7 separate regions of the Homo sapiens genome follow, and all the other regions are linked to region 3. Evidence: promoter capture Hi-C in 16 types of primary human blood cells and fetal thymus (Javierre and others, 2016). All regions are on one chromosome and are shown on one strand. The core of a region is centred on a gene start or on the middle of the fragment in contact, and the rest is flanking DNA. Distances in the headings are between cores, read along the strand shown.

Region 1 (3,686 bases), core at 1,036-3,535, 410 kb after region 3:
GTGAACTGGTTGTGGAGACAAAAGTGACTCCATCTTGGATGCTAATCTGCCATGTTGACTTCTGATTAACCCCAGTCTGGGGAATGCCTCTAAGATTTCTATTTTTATCTATGTATACTGTCTGTAAATCCTGTTCTTAGGCCAAGACACCCTTGATGTTATCAAATCCTGCCCTTAGGCTATGACACACATAGCATTCTTCCCTTTTCCTGAGAGGTGGACTTCAATTGTCCTTATACATTCCTTCTAAAGCACATATACCCTTTCTCTGTGGTATATATCTGGGAGAAAACTGTGGAAATCTACCTGTCTGGCAGCTGCCCAAGACCATCCTTTTGTCCATAAGTTCCCCAGTAAATAACCCTCTACTGACAAACTGGATTTGTCTGCCTTGTTCTTTGGTTTCTTGGTTCCTTCTGCATTTGGGGGTTGGTTTGCGTATATGGCCCTTTCATGAAGCACACATCATGTCTTTTGTTTTTTTATTTTTAAGATACCAGGTCTTGCTCTGTTGCCCAGACTTGAGTGCAGTGGCGCAATCATAGCTCACTGCAGCCTTGAACTCCCACCTCAGCCTCCTGAATAGCTGGGACTACAGGATCAGGCCACTACACCTGGCTAATTTAAATTTGTCTTTCTCTTTTTTTACAAAGATAGGACGTTGCCCAGGCTAGTCTAAAACTCCTGGCCTTAAGTGACCCTCTTGCGTTAGCCTCCCAAAATGTTGGTACTATAGGCACGAGACACTGCACCTGGCCTGTTTTTTTGTTTTTTGTTTTTTTTTTATATCTTACCTAAGGTCCACTCCTATCTCTAACAGCCCCATCTCTTTTCTTTTCTTATGTGATCTAAAAATCTTCCCCCAACACTACACTGAGACCCAAATGAGCTTTTTTTTTTTTTTTGAGATGGAGTTTCACTCTTGTTGCTCAGGCCAAGATCATGCCACTGCACTCCAGCCTGGGTGACAGAGTGAGACCCTGTCTCAACAACAACAACAACAACTGCAGATCAAAGTTAAAGAAAGTAAGAACTAAATGGAGCATCTTTTTAGTTTTACCAAGTAGACTATTTCTTTGTCTAGGATGTCTTTCTAGAACCCAGAAACAGAAAATGGCTCTTTTATCCTGTTGGCTTCAATATAATCATTCTTCCTAGGAGGCATATGATGTGGGTGATGGGTGGGTATGTGGTGGGGAGAGGCCCTGTGATACTTAATGAGCTGCAAATAACTCACTCCCATGTATTTGTGTGAGTGGAGTCACCCTACCTACTTATGCTAGCCTGTTTTCACACTCAGTTGATTCAAAAACTGTTGAATCAGACCACTCTGGAGCTTCTGAAAAAGTCCTCCAGACAACGGTGGGCAAGAGCAGGTTGCAACCAGGTTCCATTTACGGCAGTGTTTCTGAATGTTGTTTTGTACATTTTTATTACAAAACAGTTCACGATCGAACTTATTCACACTTTCATGTTGGAGCACTCGATCCTTCCTAAATAAATTAATGTTGCCCCGTTTCCACATTCTGTGTCTGGGATATAACTTGTCTTCAAATATAAGTAAGCATTCTCATTATCAGAAAAAAGAGTTGCAAGGCATCAGGAGAGAGAGCCACAGAGGAAAATATTCCAAAGATCTTGGCATTCTTCCTATAACTTTTGTACCCTCAATCTTTTTCTTCCACATTTATGAAGCTTTTAAAACATTTTCCACCCTGAATGGCACACATTTACTGGGGTGACTTTACATTGTTTGCATTATTGTGGTTCTGGGACGTGAAGTTCTTAGAGGACAGGGGCATGTTTAGAATCACATCCTACAGAGAAGTGTTTAGTAAGTAGGAATGAGAAACATCGTCCGCAAGCATTTAAGGGAGTCTGTTTCCATTTTCAGTAAGGGCAGGTTGTCACTCAACAGGCAGATGACCCAATAGACACAGTGGTATGTTTGGTTCCTGGGAGGGATGGATGTGTAGAGAAAGGGAGGAAAAGAGGAAGAAAGCAACATTAAGCCTGATCCCTGCCATAAGCTGAGCTCCTCACCACACGCACATGCACGCACAGACACATACACACACACACACTCGCTCCTTGGCACGCAGACACACACAGAGCTTTGCTATTCTTCGGCTAATGGGATTGGCACCGCTTAAAGCAGACTGCTAGGTCATTGTCTGTGACCACAGCAAGAGAAACATTATTTAAAGACCATTCAGACCCTAAAAGAAGCGGCTGAGCAGAGTAATTATCGGAGACTCTCCATTAACTAGGGCATCTTTGCTCTTTGTCTGGGTTGGTTTAACAAGGCCCGCTAATGGGACTGTACAGGAGGGGTACACTAATGGTTCTAAAAAAGCCTCTTTTGGCCCCTTTATTACTGGGGACTGTCTTTAGAGATGCTGACAGTAAAGCAAGAAGTTACCATATTACAAAATGACCTTCCCAAAAATTTGATTTGGACCCTTGCAGCTTAGGACTCAGGTTTCCAAAATTAGAAAACATCTTTGTCTTCTCCACTTTTTAAAACTCTAAGTTGGTTCCCCGCTGCCCCCTGCCAACCCCCCGCTCCCCCGCCACTGTTCCTCTTACCTTACTTGGCCCTTTGGTTTCTTGGGAACTTGTCATTGGAAACAGCAGCACTCAGTGGTGATAAAGCAGAATGGCACTCCTGAGGAATTTCTCCTTGAGCTGGCTTCTCTACTCACTCTCCAGGACTCCACTTCTCTAGAAAAACTGCCTGTCCCATTATCACTTTTAAAATATGAAGCTAGAAGTCAATCACATGCTTACAAACCTAATACGGCCACCTAAATTAAAACTACTGTTCCATAATCAGTTAGCTTTATAACAAAGGCTTCAAATGCTTAGCTCTCCTAGAAGCTTGCATCACATACAGGGAACTCTTCTGTGCAGAGCTGTCTACCTCTCTTCATTTCCCCTCTCCCAACCCTAGACCAAGCTTCCATCTTCTCTCCTCTGGGTGACTGCAATTGTCCTGCAATCACCTCCTAGCAGCACTATTGGCCCTTTCAATCCATTAACTCTGCAACAGCCAACAGCCAGAGTAGCTCTTTCAAAACAGAAACCTGCTTAAGCATTTCAGTAGCTTCCTATTGCTCATAAGAATTCTTACTGTGATTTAAGAGACCCAGACATGGTCTGGTCCTTTTTTCCTCCCTAGCAACATCTTGTACCATGCTCCCCCTAGCGTCTGCTTCAGCCACTGCAGCCTTCTTCAATGCCATGAGCAATTCATGCTCATTCCTGCCACAGGGCCTTTGCATATCATTCTGTCTAGAACACTCTTTACCCGAGTAGTTTCCACTCATCCTTCAGCTCTCAGCTCAGTAGTCAGCCCTTCAGGAAAGTTGTCCCTTAGTGCCCCTTCTAGGTTGACGACGTCTATATCATGCAATTATAGCACCATATGCTCCTCTTCACAGCATTTACAGTAAACGTTTATACTTATCAGAATGCTTTTATGTTAATAATTACCTTGCTGTGAAACTGTAAGCTTCATGAGAATAACCACATGTTCCATAAGCAATAATTCTGCCTATTTTTGTTGTACCATCCTGTCCTCAGTGCCCAGTACAATGTTTGTGACCTGAGTGCTTAATAAATCTTTGTTGCATTGTGTATAGTGATTCAAAATACTGTACCCCGGCTCCTCCATGCCTGTTCGC
Region 2 (3,844 bases), core at 1,310-3,809, 490 kb before region 3:
CCTCCAGAAACCACCAGGAAGAGAAGCAATTAGGATGAGTGAACAAAACGCTATTTTCAACTGTCATTTTTTATTGGTGAAAAGAACTCTGGCCTGGGAATCAGGTTCAGCGCCTGCCTTTCCCACACCACCCCTTCCCTTTCCAGCAAACTACTGAATCTGAGTAGAGAATTCACTTCCTTCCCTGAAAAAAATGGATGAACCACACTCTCAAAGACTCTTTCTGGCTCAAACTTCTTGCTGATAATCCTTCAGTGGCCTGTTGTCACTCTCAGTTCCTTACCACAGCAAACCAGACTCTACATGATCTGACCTTACTCTTTTCTACTCCTCTGCTTCTCCCCTTCAGACAGGACACTTCTCGCATAAATGCCCCCAGTTCATCCCTCTCTCAGAGCCCTAGTAACTCCGTCCGCATCCCAGAACGCAGACTCCCCAGGTCACTGCACATCTGTTTCCTTTTCATCGATTATGTCTTAGCTTCATTGTCACCTACTCAGAGAATCCTTCTTTGACCTGCCTAGAGAAACTAGGCCAAACAGCCCATTCATTCTTCATCATACTACCTCATTTTATTTGCTTTTTAGAACTTACCAAGTCCTGGAAAGGTCTAAATTATTTGCTTGCATGTTTATCGTTTATCTTTCCCTATTAACATAGAAGTTTCAGGAGAACAGGGATTTAGTGTATGTACCAGTGAATCCCCAGCACCCAGCACAGTACCTGGAAAAGACATCCAAAACATACTAGTTGAATCAATCAGTGAACCAATGAAGCCACTAATCAATCCCGGAATTCCAGGGAACACGTGAGCTGGTGTCTCCAGTCAGAAAATCTATCCTAAAATGCTCACCTTATTAGGTCAAAAGGCTCCCTCATCATTTCTCCTCAGTGCGAGTTTTTACACTGAGAAGGCACTTGCTGCTTCGTACTCATCAGACAGAAGCCAAATGGAGCCTCTTTTCAAGGTGGAGAGGTCAGTTGTGGGTGCTTGTGGCTGCCCATTTCAAATAGACACAAAGAGGGCTTTTCTCCTCAGCAGTCCATATTGCATCATGCATTCACTAACATGAACAAAACCCACCCCTCCCCTCTCCTCACCTGCATAATGACTGCTTATTAACTGGTATCCTGGGTGAACAGATCAAAGAGACAGGCTCAGCCCACTTTATTCCCATTTCTGTCACCTAACAGGATGTCCCTGAGAAAGGCAACTCCAGCCACCAGTCTCTGAAGCACTTGAGGGTCACAGGAATTCATTCCCTGACATTAGCAGCCCCACTTCTATCAGTCCTTACATGAAAGGTCCTTAAATGAAGAGGTCCATTCAAACCTAGCAGTTGGCGAGGACTCGTGTTTTCTGTAAGCCCCACACACCACTTACACAGGTGAGGTCCTTTAAAATTCCTATGTGGGCCCATCCTGGTATCTTTGCCATAAATTCCTAAACACAGAAGCTTTTCCTTCCCTCCCACTCCCTTTAAGAATTTTACATGAAAAGGTATCTCTACTGAGAAGTGCTATTTATTTCAGGATCATTATTTCACAGATACAGAACCCTCGAACACTGAACCTGGAAGTGAGCCAAAATCCAATTAAGAGGGTATGGAGTTTGAACTAGGCAAGAGTGGAGGATGGAAATATGGAATATAAGCAGTACAGGGTTCCTATGAGTGTGAGTGTGTGTGTGCATTCACATGTGCATAGTGTGCCACTGTTAATGAAGTGTAGATTCTCTTTAATGTATTTTGGATGCCTCTCTCTCTAAATCTTTCGTTGTCCCTAGAGTCACAAAGATGTTCTTTCTCTTATTCATTATGTCAGGCAATAGGAATCTTTCCCATCCTGGCTGGGGAAAGATGAGGGAGAGGGGAAGAGTTGATGTTCCATCATGTAAAGAAAAGTAAAATTGTGCTTTGCCCAATTCTGAACCCCATTGCAATGTTGCAGATTTCAAATTAACAATTCAACCCAACATGACAGGGAAAAAAATCAAGTGCTGAGACCCTGAAGTTTGGATTCCAGTAGCTCTGGCACCTCACTTAACCTTAGGTGGCTTGACTGATACCGAATGACATGCACTTTCAGGCACACCAGACTCTCATTGAGGAAGAGACATTAATTTGAATCATCACTGCCATCCCCTCTCCCCTTTGTTCCTGTCTGAACCAATTTCCATATAGTTTCAAAGAAATCATCAGCCCATGCAAAGGAGAAATCCCAGTGGAGCAAGAACTACATTAGCAGCATAAGGGGGAAAATCTAATTTCCAATCCAGTTGCTTTGTTGTTTCAACCTCCAAGGAAGGTTGCTACATATGCACAACACAAATTAAGTTTTAAAACACCATCATGATTTAAAATTAATAAACACTCTCATGGGAAAAAGGTGGTCCTTGATACAAATCTTCTCATACAATGAAGGTCAACTCCACCAGAGCTTGTGGGTGGTCTGGGTCTTTGAGGTCTCAATCATCTCAGCCAAAAAAATATTTAAGAACAGCATATATTCATTGAAACCACTGCATCTGCTACTTATAGTTAATGGTGAGTTCATTCTTAGTCTAAGGCAGTATCCACATTAAGAATTCTTAAACTACCTTGTTGACAGATCCCATGGAAATGTATTTTAGTGGTCCAAATTAAGAATTCTTTTTTGGCATGACAAGATATGCCAATACAATTTCCTAGTGCCCTACTTACTAGAATAAAACTCATGGCAAGACACCAGTGTGACTACATCATTAATTAACCTGAACCACATACCGGAACACTGCTGCTAATAAAACTCCTCTATAAAGAAAACATGTTTTCTCTGCTGAGAATCCTGGAATGTAGGCCCCAGCAGAGCTGCTGCCTTAAATAAGGAGATATTTCGATGTTTGTGTCTGTGTCTGCGATTGCCACGAAATTTGGTCATTTATTTGGCTTGATCTTCAATAACTTGAGTTCTTCCTTGCGTGTGCTTTTTTGGAAAAGAAAATGAAAATGGCGCCTACACTATCAGGATTTGCTAACAACTATGTGAATGAGAGGATCCTTTTTGCGAAGGTAGGGGATGCTTTATCCTCACTCTTTTGAAAGCACGCCCTGAGCTTTCAGCCCACGAGGTACTGAATCAGAGACCTGTAGAAACCATCCATCTTCTCTAGAAAACAGGCTGACAGAAACAGGAGCAAAGCTGTAACAGCTCTAACTCCCAGGTGAAACTGGGATTTTTCCAATCCATTCCATATGAAATGACATACATTTCTTTTTTCTTTTACAGAGAATTCTTTTGGGAAAAGCATCTGAAAATGCTTATCGATACTTATCTGGTAATCTTGTAACCTTGGAGTCCCCCTGTGAGACTGTAATAGGCAGCAAAGATTAAAATCCCCATCCTATTTATGGGGAACCTAACTTAGTAAAGAAAACTGAGTTTTTCACTGTTCTGTAACCATACTACCAAAAAGACCAGAAACAGAACGAAAAGTTTCTTGGCCACTAACAATTAGGTTTTTTTTTTTCTGGTCCAACCCTGAACTTTCCACCAAGGATCTCAAAACATTCTAAAAATCCAACAAACCATTATCTCTTAGTACCTTGGAAAAACAAGGATTCCTGATGAAGATTTTGGATCTTCTCAAGTTGGAAACCATCAGATCCCAAACTTCATTTCATAAGCTTTTCAACTACATTTCTCTACGTAATCTCTCCTGGTGAGACTGGGGCAAATAGTCTTGGTTTTGACAACACCCTTAATTATGCAATTTCCGAGTTCTCTCTGGTCATTGCAAGTCTTGGTTGAATTGTTAAAAGCAAATGGGATTTCAGACATTTCAACCTGTCAACATCAAGTGTAG
Region 3 (4,112 bases), core at 1,160-3,659:
GCAACCTCTGCCTCCCAGGTTCAAGCGATTCTCCTGCCTCAGCCTTCCGAGTAGCTAGGACTACAGGTGTGCGCCACCACGGCTAATTTTTGTATTTTCAGTAGAGATGGAGTTTCGCCATGTTGGCTAGGCTGGTTTCGAACTCTTGACTTCAAGTGATCTGCCCACCTCGGCCTCCCAAACTGCTGGGATTACAGGTGTGAGCCACCACACCAGGCCTATATCTTTATTATTACCAGAGTAACTTCCATGTAGTTACCTGGACTGGATTCCTAGAAGTGGTATTACTACATTAGAATATATTGAGATTTTTATTCCTACGTGTTTAACATCCCTAACAATGTTAAAACTGTCAAACTGTATTTATGCCAATCATGCATTCAACATTAATTGAGTTCCCACTGAGTCCTAGGTGTGGGGCTAGATGCTGAGGGCTCAAGTCAGAACAGGGCAGGGAGAGGAAGAAGTTAAAAAGCAGTTACAATTTTTTAACAATTACAACTATGGAAAACTTAAAGAAAACACATAATCTCCATTTTGGGCTCTGCCACTTTACAATACTCTGTGAAATAAAGAGACTAACTCGGCTGGGCGCTGTGGCTCACGCCTGTAATCCCAGCACTTTGGGAGGCTGAGGCAGGTGGATCACTTGAGGTCAGGAGTTCCAGATCAGCCTGGCCAACATGTCGAAACCCCATCTCTACCAAAAAATACAAAAATTAACCAGGTGTGGTGGCGTGCACCTGTAGCCCCAGTTACTCCAGAGGCTGAGGTGGGAGAATCACTTGAACCCAGGAAGCGGAGGCTGCATTGAGCCAGGATCGCACCACTGCACTCCAGCCTGGGCAACAGAACGAGACTATGTCTCAAAAGAAAAAAAGACTAACTCGTGTCCAAAGCAGTTGGGGGCTTTCCTTCCTATCCTCTCCGACAAGTCATTAACTTTCCTCAGCTTTCATTTACACCTTTAAAATGTAATCTATGTGGAGGGACAAGAGGAGTGACTAAGGGATACGGGTTTGAGAGTGGCAGTGATAGTAAAACTTTTAAAATTGAAGCGGTAATAGTTGCACTACTCTGTGAATATACTGTATTTTTAAAACCGCACTGAATTGTGCACTTTAAATAGGTAAAGTGTATGCTATGTGAATTATATCTCAATAAAGCTGTTCTAAAAAAAATAAAAAATAAAAGCCAGTCTTGCAAGTGTGAACGTTTTCAGAGGTCCCCCAGGGCTTACTTACCGCATCCCAAACCACCGCTGCGACTCCCAGGTGTCTCCAGTCCTGCCGGATCTGGATCGTGTGGTTTGCAAAGGAAAAAGTTGCAAGAGGCTTGTGGAATTTCTGCAACCCAAATTCCGTGGTCTCCTCATAGGGCACGAGGGCCATTCCGCCTGCACCCCGCCCTCTGCTCAGACCTGCCGTGCAAAAGAATCCTGGGTGACGCTCTGGCCAAAAGATACATTATCTGTTCTTAACTAACTCCAAATGCTTTTAAGGTCGTTTACAAGTTCAAAAGAAAAAAAGAAACAGGTGGAGGAAGCCTTTGTCCAATTTCTTTTGCATGGCTCTTCCGAATCTGAGTGAGATTTGGCTCGGAATTTGTGTCAACGGATGTGTTTGGGGAAGAAGAAAAAAAAAGCCCAGAACATTCCAACTTCCGCAGAATACCCTATACACTGCACTGCTACCACTCCGTGAATTCAGAACTACACAAGCGGCGGAAGCGGCGGTGATCGCCCAGGGCCCCAGAGCAGCGCGGAAAGCAGCGCTTCCAACCCAGACCCGGGCGCCCGGACTGCAGCTGCAGCCAGCCGGGCGGCCCGGGTTCTTTCGCTACGGTTTCGCTACCCACCTCCCCTCCTCCATCGGCTGCTTCGATAGTGATAACAATGGGACAGAACCTGCCCTTAGACTGGGTGTTAGCGGTTTGATAAACCAGAAATACATGGTCGCCGCAGTTCCGTCTCCCCGACCCTGGAAGTGAGCGACACTGGGGGCCTCCAAGCGGCTCGCGGGGACAGCGGGGACTCGGAGGCCTCCCCGAACTCCCCCTATAGCTGCCCCCCACTCACCCCTCTCCCGGGACGACCAGTGCGCCCTTCCTGCCCGGGGGCCCCGGAGCTGCGGCAACCCTCCAGGGGTGAGAGGGAGACCAGGCGAGGGGGGTCACAGGGCCTCTTAGGATCCCCAGGCCATACGGGGCGCCGTGAGCTGCCCGGCGGAGCACCCAGGGCTCGCCCAGGCCGGGCTGAGGCGCCGCCACGCCGGTACTTACGGCCCGGGAGGCGGTCCCGCGTGGAGCGCGCGCTCCGCTTTCCCCGCCCCGGGCTGGCTGCGAAAACCGCCGGCCTTAAAGAGCCCGCGACGCGGGGGCGGGCGGCCCCGGCCCGGAGCCACGCATTTCCGGTCTCCCGGCACCCAGCCTCCGGCAGGTGCCCCCGGAGCTCACGGCGAGGGCGGGGCCGGGCCGTGGCGCGGTGGAGGAGTGACGTTGCGGGAGGGGGGACCGGGGCTTTCCCTCGTGCGTCCCCAGGGTACACGGACGACTTAATCCGTTTCCCCCGCCGCCGAGGGAGGCGCTGTGGGGGCGGGAGCAAGAGTGAGATCGGGGTGCCGAACTGCCGCGGGTGCACAGGGAGAGCATGGGGTGCCCTGGGCTCTCCTAGCGGGAGAGAAAAGCCACCCACCTGGCGCTGAATGTGCCTCTCGACCTTTTCTATCATGTGCTCCGCCGCTCTCTGCCTCTGACTTTGTCGCTTGCGCGTTGTGCCTGTTTTTTAAAGGTGGCGCGTTAGCGGATGATGGAGACAGCTCGCTCCGAAGAAGGCATGGTCACTCTAGTCCCCGCGTCTCCACGGTGGGGTCAGAAGCGGCGTAATAGCCCGCTTGGCGGCAATCGAGTGGAAAAGTCACAAAACCCTTTTCAACTAAAGCACAGTGGGGGAAGTGAACACGTGGCGCCCGAGTCCAAGTTTTTAAAGTGGGGCGGGGGTCGGCGGGCTCTGGCTGCAGTCGGAAGCGCGGAGCTCTGGGCGTGCGCTCGGCTCCAGCCCCGGCCCCAGGCGGCGCTGCAGACTCCAGTGCCCCAGTCTCCCTCCTCCCGATGCCAAGACGCACCTGCCCGTGAGGACCCACGCTGGACGTGGAAGGTGCCGAGGGCCTGGTACCCTGGCCGCAGGCCCTGGCAGAGCGCGCGGCTGGAGTGGGTCCATTGAGTGGGACCGTGCGGGGACCGGCATCCTCCCGGGGCAGGCTTCTTTTTCCTCCTGGGGCCCCTCGCCCCACACCGCCCGCTGCGCTCTCAGCGCGGCTGCACGTTAGAACCAGCTGGGGTAAACCTCCCTTACCAGTCCCCCGCCCCAAGAGCTGGCCATGGGAGGGGGCCCGAGCGCTGATTTTTTTGTTTGGTTTTTTGCTTTTGTTTTTGTTTTTGTTTTTGTTTTGAGACGGAGTCTCTCTCTGTCGCCCAGGCTGGAGTGCAAGGGCGCGAACTCGGCTCACTGCAGTCTCCGCCTTCCGGGTTCAAGCGATTCTCCTGCCTCATTCTCCCGTGTAGCTAGGATTACAGGCCTGCGCCAGCACGCCAGCTAATTTTTGTGGGATTTTGTTTGTTTGTTTGAGACGGAGTCTTGCTCTGTCGCCAGGCTGGAGTGCAGTGGCGCGATCTCGGCTCACTGCAGCCTCCACCTCCCGGGTTCAAGCAGTTCTCCTGCCTCAGCCTCCAAAGTAGCTGGAATTACAGGCGCCCGCCGCCACACCCGGCTTTTTTTGTGTTTTTAGTAGAGACGGGGCTTCACCATGTTGGCCAGGCTGGCCTTGAACTCCTGATCTCCGGTGATCCGCTCATCTCAGCCTCCCAAAATGCGGGATTACAGGTGTGAACCACTGCCACCTCCCCCACCCCTACCGCCCGAGCGCTGATTTTTTTTTTTTATTATTATTATTCAGAGTTTCGCTCTTGTCACCCAGGGTGGAGTGCAATGGCATGATCTCGGCTCACTGCAACCTCCGCCTCCCAGGTTCAAGGGATTCTCCTGCCTCAGCCTCCAAGTAGCTTAGATTAAGGGGCCCACCACCACGACTGGCTAATTTTTGTATTTTTAGTAG
Region 4 (3,754 bases), core at 149-2,648, 470 kb after region 3:
TTCTTTCTCCCTTTTCCTTAGTGGCAGCGACTTTATCTTATCATCCCTGAAATGTTTCTGCTTAACTCAGCAGCGTTAAGACCTGGGACATAAAAGGCACTCAACCGTTATTAAAGGATGAGTTGAATTCATGTCGTGGCTGTCATGTATCTTTTTTTTTTTTTTTTTTTTTGAGATGGACTCTTGCTCTGTCACCCAGGCTGGAGTGCAGTGGCACGATCTCAGCTCACTGCAACCTCCGACTCCCTGGTTCAAGGGATTCTCCTGCCTCAGCCTCCCAAGTAGTTGGGATTACAGGTACCTGCCACCATGCCCAGCTATTTTTTGTATTTTTAGTATAGACGGGGTTTCACCATGTTGGCCAGGCTGGTCTCAATCTCCAGACCTCGTGATCTGCCTTCCTTGGCCTCCCAAAGTGCTGGCATTACAGGTGTGAGCCACCGCACCCGGCCCATAGCATCTCCTAACCTGTGTCTCACTCCATGTTGAGGTTGGCTGTTCTTGAACCCTTCTTAGTTCCTACCTGCTCAAGTCCACCCAGCTACCAACACCTATTACCTGCAGACTTTACCCTTCTAATCATTAAACCAATGAGAAAATCTGCTAGTCAACCTATTAGAAAACTTGACTATTCAGGTGTTGGGGCTTTTTCTGCCAACATATGTTATAGTCAGTGTTCTTTGAAGTAATAGAGGTGAGCAAAATCACAAAATACTGCCTAGACATTAAGCTACTTCTGCCCACCAGCCAGCCTTCCCTCTAATGGGAATTGCATTTTGCTTCACTGGCTTCAGCTTCTTGCCTGAGGTCCCTACTGGGATGGATGCCCAGAATCGGGCAGTAGCCTGCTAGGTGTGGGTCCCTGGTACCTGGCCAAGCTCCTGATGTCCATATTCATTGCTTTCGCTATCCCTTCTATTGAGTAAATTACTGCTAGAAATGCCACGGCCCAGGAAAAAATATACACATTTTCCTGTAACCACCCCTCACACCCTTCTTCTATGTCCAAGTGTCTCCTTATCCACAGAGAGGCAGTATCACTTAATGGTGAAATGTGGGGACTCTGGAGTCAGAAAACTCTGGCCTCCAATCCTGGTTTTGCAACTTTTATTTGTATGTGGCACTGGACTAATTCTTTAATTTCTGAACATATATCCTTGTTAAATGCAGATACTACTAGTACCTGACTCATATGTTTGTTACGAAAAGATTGAAAAATCAAATGGATGTGAAGTAAATGACACTATGCCCGACACCCTTGAAACAGTCTAGGAATGTTGTTGATTATTATTATTGGCTGCGTGGCAGGAAAAAACACTGTGAAAACAGCAGGGAAGCCTTCCAAAGCTGTGGTCCTTTCAGCAGCTGCTCAACACTTGCTCACTGCTGCATGGGTTATATTATACAGCACCGAGAAGCCAGCTTTACATATCTGGAAATAGATTCCAGATACTTAAAGAATGTGATTTTTGGCTGGGCACGGTAGCTCACACCTGCAATCCTAGCACTCTGGGAAACCAAGGCAGTCTGATTGTTTGAGCCCAGGAGTTAGAGATAAGCCTGGCCAACATGGCAAAACCCAGTCTCTACAAAAAAGTACAAAAATTATCTGGGAGTGGTGGTGTTATGAGATCTTTGGGGTGTCACTTTTCTGGCTGGAAACCTCTGTGGCCAGTGGCACTTTTGCCTGAGTTCTTGTCCTGCGTCCAGAAAGAATGGGGTATGCAGACAAGTGGAGGGTGAACAAGACAAAGAGGCACTTTACTGGGTGTTAGAACAGCTTAGAGGAGACCCATAGTGAGTAGCTCGTCTCTGTTGAGTCTTCAGCTCTCAGCAGAGAGGTGGCTCTGGAATTGGTGGCTCCTCTCTGCAGGCAGGTCAACCTGTCAAGTGTTCAGCTATAGCAGAGAGGAGGCCTAGAGTGGGTTACATGAGATATTTTGATACAGGTATGCAAAGTGTAATAGTCACATCAGGGTAGGTGGGGGTATCCATCCCCTCAAGCATTTATCTTTTGTGTTACAAACAATCCAATTATGTTCTTAGTTATCTTAAAATATACAATTACATTTTTTTTTTACTATACTCACCCTGTTGTGCTATTAATAACTAGGTCCTATTCATTCTTTCTATTTTTGTGTGTGTCCATTAATCATCTCTGTATTAGTCCATTCTCACATTGCTATAAAGAAATACCTGAGGCTGGGTTATTTATTTATTTATTTATTTATTTATTTATTTATTTATTTGGAGATGAAGTCTCACTCTGTTGCCCAGGCTGGAGTGCAATGGTGCAATCTTGGCTCACTGCAGTCTTTGCCTCCTGGATTCAAGCAATTCTCCTGCTTCAGCCTCCCAAGTAGCTGGGATTACAGGTGTGCGCCACCATGCCCAGCTAATTTTTGTACTTTTAGTAGAGGCAGGGTTTCACCATGTTGGCCAGGTTGTTCTTGAACTTCTGACCTCAATGATCTGTCCACCTTGGCCTCCCAAAGTGCTGGGATTACAGGCATGAGCCACTGTGCCCTGCCAAGACTGGGTAATTTATAAAGAAAAGAGGTTTCATTGGCTCACAGTTCCACAGGCTGTACAGGAAGCATGATGCTGATATCTGCTCAGCTTCTTGGGGGCCTCAGGGAACTTACAATCATGGTGAAAGGCAAAGGGATAGCAGCCTGTCACATGGTTGGAGCAGGAGCAAGAGAGCGAGCGAGCAGGGAGATGCTACACACTTTTAAACAACCAGATCTCGTGAGAACTCACTAATTATCACGAGAACAGCACCGAGGGGTGATGCTAAACCATTCACAAGAAATCTGCCCCTGGGATTCAATCACCTCTCACCAGCCCTCACTTCCAACACTGGGGATTACAATTTCACATGAGACTCGGGCAGGTACACAGATCCAAATTATATCAATCCCCACTTCCCTCCTCATCCCCCACTACCCTTCCCAGCCTCTAGTAACCATCCTTCTACTCTCTATCTTTATGAGTGAAATTGTTTTAATTTTTAGCTCCCACAAATACGTGAGAACGTGTGATGTTTGTCTTTCTTATTTCACTTAACATGATGACCTCCAGTTCCATCCATGTTGTTGCGAAGGACAGGATCTCATTCTTTTTTACGGCTGAATAGTATTCCATTGTGTATATGTACCAGGAAAGGGTATGCTTCAAAGCCAGAGTCTGGTGACCGCATAGGGCTTTGGGATCTGGGTTTATTTGCAGTGCTTTCCTTTCATGTGGTACATAAAGCCCCAAAGGTATGAGAACATAAACGGTATTTGTGAGCTATATCAACAGTTCTGAATTCCCATCTTCTATACCAGAGTCAGCTGGGAGTACGCGGGTTCAGACTGTCAACCTAAGTAACAGAGAGGGACTCTCTAAAAGTAAATGATATTTCTTTGGGAATGAAGCATTGCAATGGGAATATGCGTGCCACAGTAAACTATGTGCATATTCAGGGAGGTAAAAGAAGACAAAGGTTTTCAAAGGAAAAAATGAGGAGGATTGCATAATTGTTTTGAAATAATTATCCTTGGCTACAAAGATCGTTAACGAGGGTGACACCCGTCCGAGGTTGGACAGGCAGTTGCTGGGCAGATGTCTTTGCAGAAGTATTTTTTATATAAGGTTGCAATGTTCTGTGTGCAAGGTTGTGGTTTTTGCAGAGTCTTTTGTGATAGTTTTTTGTTATCAAGCATATAAGCACAAGAATGTTCTCTTCATAACCTTCCCTGTCCCTATT
Region 5 (3,977 bases), core at 229-2,728, 430 kb after region 3:
CAATCTACCCATCTGACAAAGGACTAATATCCAGAATCTTCAAAGAACTTAAACAAATTTACAGGAAAAAATCAAACAACCCCATCAAAAAGTGGGCAAAGGATATGAACAGACAGTTTTCAAAAGAAGACATTTATGCAGCCAACAGACACATGAAAAAATGCTCATCATCACTGGTCATCAGAGAAATGCAAATCAAAACCACAATGATTAGAATGGTGATCATTAAAGTCAGGAAACAACAGATGCTGGAGAGGATGTGGAGAAATAAGAATGCTTTTACACTGTTGGTGGGAGTATAAACTAGTTCAACCACTGTGGAAGACAGTATGGCGATTTCTCAAGGATCTAGAACTAGAAATACCATTTGACCCAGTGATTCCATTACTGGGTATAAACCCAAAGGATTTTAAATCATGCTGCTATAAAGACACATGCACAAGTATGTTTATTGTGGCACTATTCACAATAGCAAAGACTTGGAACCAACACACATGTCCATCAGTGATAGACTGGATTAAGAAAATGTGGCACATTACTATGCAGCCATAAAAAATGATGAGTTCACGTCCTTTGTAGGGACATGGATGAAGCTGGAAACCATCATTCTCAGCAAACTATCCCAAGGACAAAAAACCAAACACCGCATGTTCTCACTCACAGGTGGGAATTGAACAATGAGAACACTTGGACACAGGAAGGGGAACATCACACACCCCGGACTGTTTTGGGGTGTGGGGAGGGGGGAGGGGGGAGGGATAGCATTAGGAGATATACCTAATGTAAATGACGAGTTAATGGGTGCAGCACACCAACATGGCACATATATACATATGTAACAAACCTGCATGTTGTGCACATGTACCCTAGAACTTAAAATATAATAAAAAATATATATATATTAAAAAAAAGAAAATGTGGCACATATACACCATGGAATACTATGCAGCCATAAAAATGGATGAGTTCATGTCCTTTGTAGCGACATGGATGAAGCTGGAAAGCATCATTCTGAGCAAGCTATCGCAAGGACAGAAAATCAAACACCACATGTTCTCACTCATAGGTGGGAATTGAACAATGAGAACACTTGGACACAGGGCAGGGAACATCACATACCCCGGCCTGTCGTGGGGTGGGGGGATAGGGGAGAGATAGCATTAGGAGAAATACCTAATGTAAATGACAAGTTAATGGGTGCAGCAATCAAACACGGCACATGTATACATATGTAACAAACCTGCACGTTGTGCACGTGTACCCTAGAACTTAAAGTATATATATAAAAAAAGAGCTACTTTTAACTAAAAGAATAATAATTAATACTACTGAGAGCTTTTCACCTGAACACCTCAAAGCACTGCACATGCCTTAACCCCTTTATGGTCTCATTGAGGTATGTGTTTGCTCTTAAAGACTTTTCACAATTTCACAAGCAAAACTCAAATGATCCATTATATCTAAGAAGTCAAGGCAAACCCTCTGGGAATAAAGAGCTGCCTAGGAATAATAGTAGGGCTACCTTATGAGACATGGTGAAAGTCCTGGGCACAGTGTCTTGTGGATGGCAGATGCTGAAAAAAGGTCCCATGTTTCCAATGCAGAGATCACAATAGGGCCTGGTTATGCCTTTGAGGCCTCAGCCCATGAGGCCCACCAGGTAACCAAAGCACTGTGATCGTGCACCATCAGCCTGAATAGAGCCACTTGCAAGTTATAACTTTATCTCTGCTCCTGATTATGTGAAAAACGGCAAACAACTTTGTTTAACCTCCACTTACTTTTTTCCCCTCCTTGACTATAGTTGAAATCAGCTGTATTAGGCCATTCTTGCATTGCTATAAAGAAATACCTGAGACTGGGTAATTTATAAAGGAAAGAGATTTAATTGGCTCATATTCCTGCAGGCTATACAGGAGGCATGGTGCTGGCATCTGCTTGGCTTCTGGTGAATCCTCAGGGAGCTTTTATTCATGGTGGAAGGTGAAGTGGGAGCTGGCACTTCACACGGCAAAAGCAAGAGCAAGAGAGAGAGAGTGAAGGTGGGGGTACCACACACTTTTAAATTACCAGATCTCATGAGAACTCACTCACTATCTCCAGGACAGGTCCAAGCCATGAGAAATCTGCCCCCATGACCTTAACACCTCCCATCAGGACCCATCTCCAACACTGGGGATTACATTTCAACATGAGGTTTGGGCAAGGACATGTATCTAGATTATATCATCAACTAGATCCAAACAGCTTTTGCTATCAATGACAATATTTATTTAATCCCTCCCCCCTTTTTCTTTTGAGACAGGGTCTCGCTCTGTCATCCAGGCTGGAGTGCAGTGGCGTGATCACAGCTCACTGCAACCTTTGCTTCCCAGACTCAAGCAATTCTCTAGCCTCAGCCTCCCAAGTAGCTGGGACTACAGGTGTGAGCCACCATGCTTGGCTGATTTGTGTGTTTGTCTGTGTGTGTGTAAATGGGGTTTCACTATGTTGACCAGGCTCGAACTCCTGAACTCAAAGCAATCTGCCTACTTTGGCCTCCCAAAGTGCTGGGATTACAGGCGTGAGCCACTCCACCCAGACTATTTAATCCTTTTTGTTTGTTTGTTTGAGACAGAGTTTCGCTCTTGTTGCCCAGGCTGGAGTGCAATGGCATGGTCTCGACTCACTGCAACCTCCGCCTCCCGGGTTCAAGCGATTCTCCTGCCTCGGCCTCCCGAGTAGCTTACAGGCGTGCATCACCATGCCTGGCTAATTTTGTATTTTTAGTAGAGTCGGGGTTTCTCCATGTTGGTCAAGCTGGTCTCAAACTCCCAACCTCAGGTGATCTGCCCGCCTTGGCCTCCCAAAGTGCTGGGATTACAGGCGTGAGACACCTCACCCGGCCTTATTTAATCCTTTTTATAGAAGGATAATGCTTGAGACCTTCAGAAATGATCAAATGATGATTTGCCATATCTTCTTTCACATTTAGGTTAAACACTGTCCTGGGAACAACTCTAATTGGGGATGAAAGAAGAATAGAAAAGGACAATATAACTTATGCTAGGTTATTAAAACTTAGTGGGAAGTAACCAAGTATCTTGAATAATGTGTCTAAAATAGATCTCTATGGTTTTGCCCCAAACCTGCTCCTTCTCCAATAGTCACCTCTTTTTAATACATGGTACTGGTATTCGCCCAGTTACTCAAACCAAAAACTAGAGAGCCACCCTGGGCTCTTCCTCTCCCTCCACTCCCAAATTCAGTCCATCTGTAAGTCCTGTTAGTTTGTCTTCCAAAAAAATTCCCACATTCTTCCACTTTGCTTCTTTTTTTGTCCTCTGTGGTCCCCTGGTCCAAGCCCCTGTCATCTGTCACATGATCAGCACAGTGACTTCTGACCAGCCTCCCCCTTTCCCCCTCACTACAGTCCATTTTCTCCATGGCAGCCAAATTTAAAGATCACACGTGTCATACCCCTGCAAAAAAGCATCCTTTCTCGCAGAACAAAATCCAAACTCCTTTTGGGGAACCTGGAGTACCTACTTGCTCTAGGCACTGTGCACCTGAAGCCCTTTTTCTCCCTGTCTCTCCCTTGCTTTCTCTTCTGGCTGTGTGGCCCCCGGGCTCTGCAGATGCTCCTTGTGCATGGCAGGGTCTTCTCCAAGGACCTTCATGTGATTCCCCCATTCACATCATTCAAGTCTGCCCGAATTCTTTCTCCCCAGCAAGGCTTTCCCTCACTGTCCTATCCAAAAGGGCACCTTGCCCTTCATCTCCTTTCCCTGCCTTCTTCTTCCATACAGACCTCCTCACCCTGCAATTATGTTGTATCGTTCAACTTGTTTGTTTCTGCCTGAACTGTCTCTGTCTCTAGAATGGAATCTCCTCAAGCAGGGATGTGGTCTTTCTTGTAATCCACTAAGAGTTCAGCTCCAAGAGCAATTCTTCACATACGGAAGGTACTCAAGGAATATTTATAGAATAAATGAATG
Region 6 (3,863 bases), core at 909-3,408, 450 kb after region 3:
TCCTCAATTTATCCATATTGAGTGTGCCATCTGCTTCTTTTTCGGATGCTGATGCTTCAGAGTGATATGGGAAAGTATCCCAGGCATTTTTGTCTCATTCATCACACCTAGAAAGATAATTTAGGATTTGATGATGAAATAGCATGGTAGAAAATATAGCATACAAAGTTTTTCCTTGGAAGACAATCACTGGACATTCTCAAGAATGGCAAGAGAAGGCATAATAAAAATAGCTGCCAGATGGGGGACAGGACTGACTTGCAGCTCTCATGCTGACTTGCAGCATGAGGAGACTCACATTGTGAACTTTTGCTCCAAGAACTACTGCAAGAACATACCAGGAAAACCAAAAGAATTCACAGACCCTTTGAAAGAAGAGTTTGCCGCTGCAAACTCCAAGACACAGCTGAAAAACCGTGAGTGCCCAGAGTGTGAGAGGGGGAAAGTCTCTTTCCAAACACACATCCTCACTGGGGAGCCTGAAAATCCATATCATGGGAGAAGGATTTAACCTTACCTAGAGCTGAGGCGAATTTAGAGAGCTGAGCAAAATATAAAAGTAGAAGCAGCAGCAGGAAGAGCCCTGTAGGCACTCCCGGTCCCCAGGGAAGCTCAGAGAACCCATTTCTGACTTTATCTCACAGGGGCCCTTGTGGGGAGCGGGCTGCCAGTGGAATTAGGGAAAGCCCACAGGGAGAAGGAAACTTCCAGCTGAACTTTATAATGATTTCAAGCATGAATTTTCCAGAGCAGAATCTGGGGTCGGGGGCAAACAGGAAGTCCAGATAGGAGCACAGAAGCCGCAGCGAGGAGGGGAAGGCCTGAAAGCCCTGCTTGCTTTATTAGGCGCGAGGCTTGTATGGTGGCGGTGGAGGGAGTTCCCAGTCCTGCTCACTGGCAAATAAACTCACCTAGATATAAACTCGGTGCTGTCGAGGAGCACTGGGAGAGTGAGACTGGCCTTTCAGTCTGCGTGGGAGCTGGGTGAGGCCCGTCACTGCCAGTTTTCCGCAACTTCCCTGGCGACCTGTATGACAGCAGAGGCAGCCATAGTCCTACTGGGAACCTACTCCAATGGCCTGAGAACCACACCCCCTCCCCCAAGGTGGCTGCGGCAAGCCCCGCCCAAGGAGAGTCTGAGCTCAGACCCACCTGACTCTACCCCCACCAGATAGATGGTCTTTCTCCACCTGCCCTGGTAGCCAAAAACAAAAGACGTACAACTCATGGAAGTTCTAGGGCCCCGCCCATCACCTGAGAAACCTGAAGGCTCATCCAGGAGACCCTAGGGCAAGCTTGCGTCCCCCCATACTACCGCAGCTGAAGTTGTCTGAAGTTGTCTTGAAAGCGCCACCTCCTAGCTGGAGGCCAACCAACACAAACTGTTACAGCAACTCATCAAAGAATAACCCTGCCCCAAGAAAGGAGAAAACAATGGTTAACTCCACTGCCTGTAACATCCTGGCTAACCAGAGGTCCTAAGTCTGTCCACATGATAGCTTTACTGTCAGTACAACCAGCATTTGAGAAAACCGGCACGCTAAACAAAACTACAACCAAGTACTCTTACAGAGTCCGCTTCACTCCTCTGCTACCTCCACTGGAGCAGGTGCTGGTATCCACAGCTGAGAGATCTGAAGATGGAGCACATCACAGGACTCTTTGCAGACCCTCCTCAGTACCAGCCCAGAGCCCAGTAGCTCCACTGGGTGGCTAGACCCAGAAGAGAAATAACAATCACTGCAGTCTGGTTCTCAGGAAGTCCTATCTCAAGGGGAAAGGGGAGAGCCCCACAGCAAGGGAGCACCCTATGGGACAAAAGAATCTGAACAGCAGCCCTTGAGCCCCAGATCTTCCCTCTGACATAGTCTACCCAAATGAGAAGGAACCAGAAAAACAATTCTGGTAATATGATAAAACAAGGCACTTTAACACCCCCAAAAGATCACACTAGCTCACCAGCAATGGATCCTGTGAAAGGAAAATATCTTGGGCCCCAAAATCACTAGGAAAAACTAGCTGGAAATTGCTTAGGGCAAATCTGCCTTCCATTCTATTCAAAGTTATCCCTCTGCTCATTGAGATAGATGCATATCTGATTGCCTTCTTTGGAAAGGCTAATCAGAAACTCAAAAGAATGCACTGTTTGTGTTTCACCTAACTGTGACCTGGAAGATCCCTCCCTGCTTTGAATCTTCCTGTCTTTGCTTCAAGTTGTCCCGCCTTTCCAGATAGAACCAATGTACTTCTTACATATATTGATTGTTGTCTTCTGTCTCCCTAAAATGGATAAAACCAAGCTGTGCCCCCGACCACCTTGGGCATGTCATCAGAACTCCCTGAGGCAGTGTCATGGTCCGTCCTCAACCTTGGCAAAATAAACTTTCTAAATTAACTGAGAGCTGTCTCAGGTTTTCTAGGTTCACAATCCAAACCAAGAAGAAATCTCTAAATGGCCAGCAAAAAAATTCAGAAGGTCGATTATTAAGCTACTCAGGGAGGCACCAGAGAAAGGTAAATACCAACTTAAAGACATTTTAAAAATGTTACAGGGTATGGAAGGAAAAATCTCCAGAGAAATAGATAGCATAAATAAGAAACAATCACAACTCCTGGAGATGAAGGACACACTTAGAGAATTGCAAAATACACTGGAAAGTCTCAACAATAGAATAGAACAAGTAGAAGAAAGAACTTAAGAGCTTGAAGACAAGGCTTTCGAATTAGCCCAATCTGAGAAAGACAAAGAAAAACAAATTAAAAAAATGAACGAAGTCTCCAAGAAGTTTGGGATTATGTTAAATGACCAAAACTAAGAATAACTGGCGTTCCTGAGGAAGAAGAGAAATCTAAAAGTCTGGAAAACATTTGAGAGAATAATTGAGGAAAACTTTTCCAGGCTTGCTAGAGATCTAGCCATCCAAATACAAGAAGCTCAAAGAACATCTGGGAAATTCATCGCAAAAAGATCATCCCCTAGGCACATAGTTATCACGTTATCTAAAATCAAGATGAAGGAAAGAAGCTTAAGAGCCATAAGGCAAAAGCTTCAGGTAATGTATAAAAGAATATCTATCAGATTAATAGCAGATTTCTCAGCAGACACCTTGCAACCTAGAAAGGATTGGGGTCCTATCTTTAGCCTCCTTAAACAAAACAATTATCAGCCAAGAAATTTGTATCCAGCAAAACTAAGCTTCATAAATAAAGAAAAGATACAGTCTTTTTCAGGCAAACAAATGCTGAGAGAATTTGCACTACCAAGCCAGCACTACAAGCACCGCTAAAAGGAGTGCTAAATCTTGAAGCAAAGCCTCAAAATACACCAAAATAGGCCGAGCATGGTGGCTCAAGCCTGTAATCCCAGCAGTTTGGGAGACCAAGGTGGGCAGATCACGAGTTCAGGAGATCAAGACCATCCTGGCTAACACAGTGAAACCCTGTCTCTACTAAAACCACAAAAAATTAGCCAGGTGTGGTGGCACACACCTGTAGTCCCAGATACTCTGGAGGCTGAGTCATGAGAATTGCTTGAACCTGGGAGGCAGAAGTTGCAGTGAGCCGAGAGTGCACCACTGCATTCCAGCCTGGGTGACACAGCGAGTCCCCATAACAAAATAAAAAAAGAAAAAAGAAATACACCGAAATAGAACCTTCTTAGAGCATAAATCTCACAGGACCTATAAAACAATAAAATAATTTTAAAAAAACATAAGGTATTCAGGCAACAACTTGCACGATGAAGAGAATGACACCTCACATCTCAATACTAATGCCAAATGTAAATGGCCTAAATACTCCACTTAAAAGCTACAGAATGGCAGAATGAATAAGAATTCACCAACTAAACATCTGCTGGCTTC
Region 7 (3,959 bases), core at 1,120-3,619, 510 kb before region 3:
AATCCTGCATTTTTTAGGGCAACTGCTAGACTCCTAGAACCACTCTCATTTAACATTGGCTTCAATATTAGAGCAAACTATAGTCCTTATTACAAAACATCCCTGCTAGGAAAATAGCAAGGTCTCCAGAGAAAGATATTAGATACCCTAAGACACCTAACTAGGCAATACTCTACCATGGAGGTCAAGTTCTTTCTCAGCTAAGGATGGCTTCTGGTTTCCTGCCTGCAACAAAATGATTGATAGCTTTTATCATTTTTAGCTCATCTAGTGAAACAGATAAAACTATGCAGACCCAACAAAGTTGGGATTAAAACATCTTTTTACATTATTTGCCTGAAAACAATATGTACCACTTTACTGAATTCCATACATGTTATAGTAATGGAAACGGATACATTTTAAAGGCAGAAACAACAAAATAAGCCTAAGTATATGTTTTATAATACCAGATGAGTAGTTTAGAATATAAAAGGAGTTTTAATCTGTAAATGTATTTTATTTTGCAAACAAAATAAAAGGGGTCTTACATGAATGCAGATAACTTTTGAAGGGAAGAAAAAAAAAGATGTCAGTTGCAAAAAAAAAAAGGGGGGGTATGCCAAGGAAGTTTGGTTTAGGACAAAGCTGGACTGAGGCTCCATAAGGAACCAGCAATGGGGCATTCTGATCTTTCCTCCCCTACAAGATTATGGGGTCCAATCCCGGGTCAGTCCCCAGCTCACCTAGCTCCATAAACATACATGTTGAAGGAGAAGGTAGGGTGAACAGAAATATGGAACAAAGCATGCTAAGCTTATTCTCATTGCAGACATCCTTAAATAATTGAAGTGCTTTCACCTCCATTATTTCACCACCCATTGGTGACTGAACATGGGGACACTGCAGGAGTGAGAAGTAACTCCATCAGTGGTTGGCTGAATAACCAGCACATTAAAAAGTCACCAACTTTTAATTATTTTAAGTGATCTTGCCTCGACCAACATTTAGCTTAATAATGTCATGTCAATACATTAACAAATTGTTGAAAGGAAGCCACTTTTAGAAAATGTAGAAAATCCAGTAGCAGAGGAGGGGTAGATGGGATGGTGCTGGAGTAAAGTGGGGGAATGCCATCCCAGTTCCCAACACTCCCCCATCATGTCTCCCTACCTGTTTACAGACTACTGAAATTCTATTAAGTTTCCCCTAATTGAAGGTTAAAAAACTAATAATAGAAGATTAAAGTGTTATACACTGGTGGATGGACGTATAATCCACTGACCACAACAGTCTACAGTGTACCAACCACAACAGTCTACAGTGTATTGCTACCAGATCCTTTCTGCTGTGAAGGATAGAGGAAAGCTGCAGGGCAGAAAGTGACAGAGTACAGGAAGGGATCAGATATTAGGTACTTAGGTAGGGAATGCAGAAGAAAAAAACCCCATATTTTAGAAAACAAGTTTGGCCAGGGCTATCCAGTTTGCCTCCATCAGGGTGAAGACAAATAGAAACTGCCTGCCTGGAAAGGGTTAGGCGTTCTCCATTCGGTACCGGAGTCGTGCAGCAGAGCTTAGTGTCATCTGACACATTCTGCCCCTGGTGGACCAGATTCCCAAACAGCTGCATTTACTCATCAGAACTAATTTCCTTATATGAAGTTTGTTTCCTGAGGATCCGTTATCAAGGTTTCAACTGTAATTTCTACTACATTCAAGCTGAATATTTTTCAAAGAAAGACAGGTCACCTTACAATTATTTTTCATCTGTCCTTATATTTTAATTTTTTTAAAAAGAGGACCATTCAAAACCAATTTGTTTAAAAAAATTAACACGTGAGTTTCTTAAACTCCATTTCTTTCTAATTCAAACACAATCACTACATTATTATTTCAACTTCAGGAAACATAGAAAATCCCTGCCTACCATCAATTCTTATAACGTCATCTTAGCCTTCACTCTTTACAAAGCTCCACATAGCTTTCCTTGAACCTTCCTATATTATATGTACAGGATAACCATGATCATGACGGTAATTAACACTCATATTATAATAGAAACAGCCTCTGTACATTATCAATTTATTAAAAGGAACAGTTTTTCTAAAAGTTTACACTTGGCCTTCTCAATGTCATTTTTTCATTTACACAGACTTCTCATGACCCTCTTCTTTTCTTCTCTATCAAACAGAACTCGCCCACCCTTGAAACCTTTGAATTTATAAAATTCTATTACTTTCACTGCCTTTTCTGAAATGAGATTCCTCTTTTCTCTTCTCCTTCCTCCCAGTTCCCCCACATCCCCCATCCAAACTATATTCTGAGATCAAGTTCCAAATATAATGATTTTATGAAACCATATTTCAGGCTTTTGTGTCAAAAAGCGAGGTCCTCGGCAATAAAGAGGGACTAGTGTATGTACAGTGGGTGTTCGAAAATATTGTTTATGATGAAATACTCATTAATTTCATGCTTTTCTTTCTCCTCGATTCTTATTTTAACATACTTATTTGCTTTGTGACTATCAATTATCCATTAAAAGGACATCTGGAATAGGCGTCCCACAAAGCCTATATTTATTATCATAGTATAATGATAAAATAAATGTGCTTGCTGTGTATATGCTGAGTTTAGGCCATGCTTCCCAATATATGTTTACATTAATTTATCTTCATAAATGTTAGGAGTTATCATATTGCTAAATTACCATGTGGTAAAGTTTTAAGATTTTACTGAATCAGAAAATTCTCCCAGCGATTGTTTTTCACCACCTCATTTCATACCCTTTCTTTTCAAACTTCTCTTAAGCTCTTGAATATGCTAAATCCAAATTATCAAACCCTCCTATTCAGCTCTCTCCACCTTGTGAACTGAACATTTAACCCTTATTCTTGTTTCCATCCCATAATCGGGGTTTAATGAGTTTCTGCCTCAACACATGGATAAACTTCATTAGCAGCCATGTGTCTCGGCATATTAAAGGCCCTTTAATGTCTTAAAATCGCCCCATTTCAGTTGCTATTGTATAAATTCAAAGAATTCTTATCTATGGCACTAGCAGGTTGAAAGTGGTTGATGAACCCCCTACAGTTCCACACTGAGGTATTAAATTTTATCCTGCTGATATGCCTGACCTTGAATTAGGGCTTCTATTTATATAAATTACTATACTATCACATTGACATCATTTAAAAAGATGAACAGCATCAATAAACACTCTGTCCAGAAGGAGAGAAGCGACTTGTTATCTCCAAATCTTCCATGCTGCCTCTGACTGCTGCTGCAAGCCCCTGCTTTCATTTACTGCCCCATCACCACCCTTCAGCACTCCTTCCCAAATGGACCACCCTGTTCTCCTTTGCTGGTCACTCCATGGTACAGTGCCTGACATCTATGGGCACTTAATACCTGTTCGCAGAAAGACTGAAGAACACATACAGTAAATAAGAAGCAAAACAATCTACTGAGTAGGATGTAAGCCTATAGGTCAGGAGACATGGGTCCAATTTAATTTCTAACAACAGGGACTTGCATAGCCTGAACCAAGTTACTTTTTTGTTGTTGTGGTTCCTCAGTTTCTCCCATGTTGTGATAATACTGACCTTTCTTATTTGATAGGGACAGAATATTAACATTTGTCATTTTAATGCGTGAACTGAGACTGGCATGTCTCTCTTTAACACTAACATTAAAAAAAGTGAAAATAGTAACAACCATAAAATAGTAGCTTTATCAGTAACGATAATAGGCCTGGAAATGGAAGACCATTTCTTTGTAATTTCCTTGTACTGCTTCTCAGTCACCTGATGAGGCAATATGTTTAAGGACCCTCCTAATTCTCACCTATTTAGAGAGGATATTTAGTTTTCATCGTCCATTTGCATTTAAACTATACGTCTTTAATTTCCTCTTAATAACAGGTTACTTTTAAAAAATTCATTTGACTTGTTTCCCCTTTATTAGTAAGCTTGGAAGTTA

Evidence for each region. Contacts are between HindIII fragments. The CHiCAGO score rates a contact against its expected background, and 5 or more counts as called.
Region 1: a fragment that was not itself captured here is called in contact with the fragment with the promoter of METTL21A in region 3 in 17 of 17 cell types (total B cells, naive B cells, M2 macrophages and 14 more); the score reaches 11.9 in total B cells.
Region 2: a contact is called between a fragment that was not itself captured here and the fragment with the promoter of METTL21A in region 3, in 2 of 17 cell types (neutrophils and monocytes). The highest score is 6.2, in neutrophils.
Region 4: a contact is called between a fragment that was not itself captured here and the fragment with the promoter of METTL21A in region 3, in 1 of 17 cell types (M2 macrophages). The highest score is 5.6, in M2 macrophages.
Region 5: a fragment that was not itself captured here is called in contact with the fragment with the promoter of METTL21A in region 3 in 13 of 17 cell types (megakaryocytes, M2 macrophages, erythroblasts and 10 more); the score reaches 11.8 in megakaryocytes.
Region 6: a contact is called between a fragment that was not itself captured here and the fragment with the promoter of METTL21A in region 3, in 3 of 17 cell types (megakaryocytes, endothelial precursors and erythroblasts). The highest score is 7.1, in megakaryocytes.
Region 7: a fragment that was not itself captured here is called in contact with the fragment with the promoter of METTL21A in region 3 in 1 of 17 cell types (neutrophils); the score reaches 7.8 in neutrophils.

What each region holds. Positions count from the first base shown.
Region 1 is chr2:208,037,759-208,041,444 of GRCh38, forward strand. No RefSeq gene overlaps it. Among named protein-coding and RNA genes, the nearest start is that of PLEKHM3, 14 kb to the left of the region's middle. The HindIII fragment of the contact is 1,185 bases long and covers 1,694-2,878 here.
Region 2 is chr2:207,135,994-207,139,837 of GRCh38, forward strand. The region is part of intron 1 of KLF7 (KLF transcription factor 7); the gene reads right to left. Among named protein-coding and RNA genes, the nearest start is that of MIR2355, 28 kb to the left of the region's middle. The HindIII fragment of the contact is 2,208 bases long and covers 1,456-3,663 here.
Region 3 is chr2:207,622,985-207,627,096 of GRCh38, forward strand. METTL21A (methyltransferase 21A, HSPA lysine) reads right to left here and starts at 2,410. Exons shown (of 4, transcript NM_001127395.5): 1 at 2,078-2,410; 2 at 1,245-1,420. The coding sequence starts at 1,391. RefSeq lists a silencer at 2,006-2,605 and enhancers at 2,876-3,580, 3,581-4,112. The HindIII fragment of the contact is 10,824 bases long and covers 1-4,112 here.
Region 4 is chr2:208,096,676-208,100,429 of GRCh38, forward strand. No RefSeq gene overlaps it. Among named protein-coding and RNA genes, the nearest start is that of CRYGD, 26 kb to the right of the region's middle. The HindIII fragment of the contact is 9,375 bases long and covers 1-3,754 here.
Region 5 is chr2:208,058,031-208,062,007 of GRCh38, forward strand. No RefSeq gene overlaps it. Among named protein-coding and RNA genes, the nearest start is that of PLEKHM3, 34 kb to the left of the region's middle. The HindIII fragment of the contact is 7,297 bases long and covers 1-3,977 here.
Region 6 is chr2:208,077,182-208,081,044 of GRCh38, forward strand. It overlaps LOC105373854 (a long non-coding RNA gene), which reads left to right. Exons shown (of 4, transcript XR_923815.3): 4 at 1-17. Among named protein-coding and RNA genes, the nearest start is that of CRYGD, 45 kb to the right of the region's middle. The HindIII fragment of the contact is 1,730 bases long and covers 1,294-3,023 here.
Region 7 is chr2:207,114,600-207,118,558 of GRCh38, forward strand. All of the region lies in intron 2 of KLF7 (KLF transcription factor 7), which reads right to left. Among named protein-coding and RNA genes, the nearest start is that of MIR2355, 6.5 kb to the left of the region's middle. The HindIII fragment of the contact is 3,153 bases long and covers 794-3,946 here.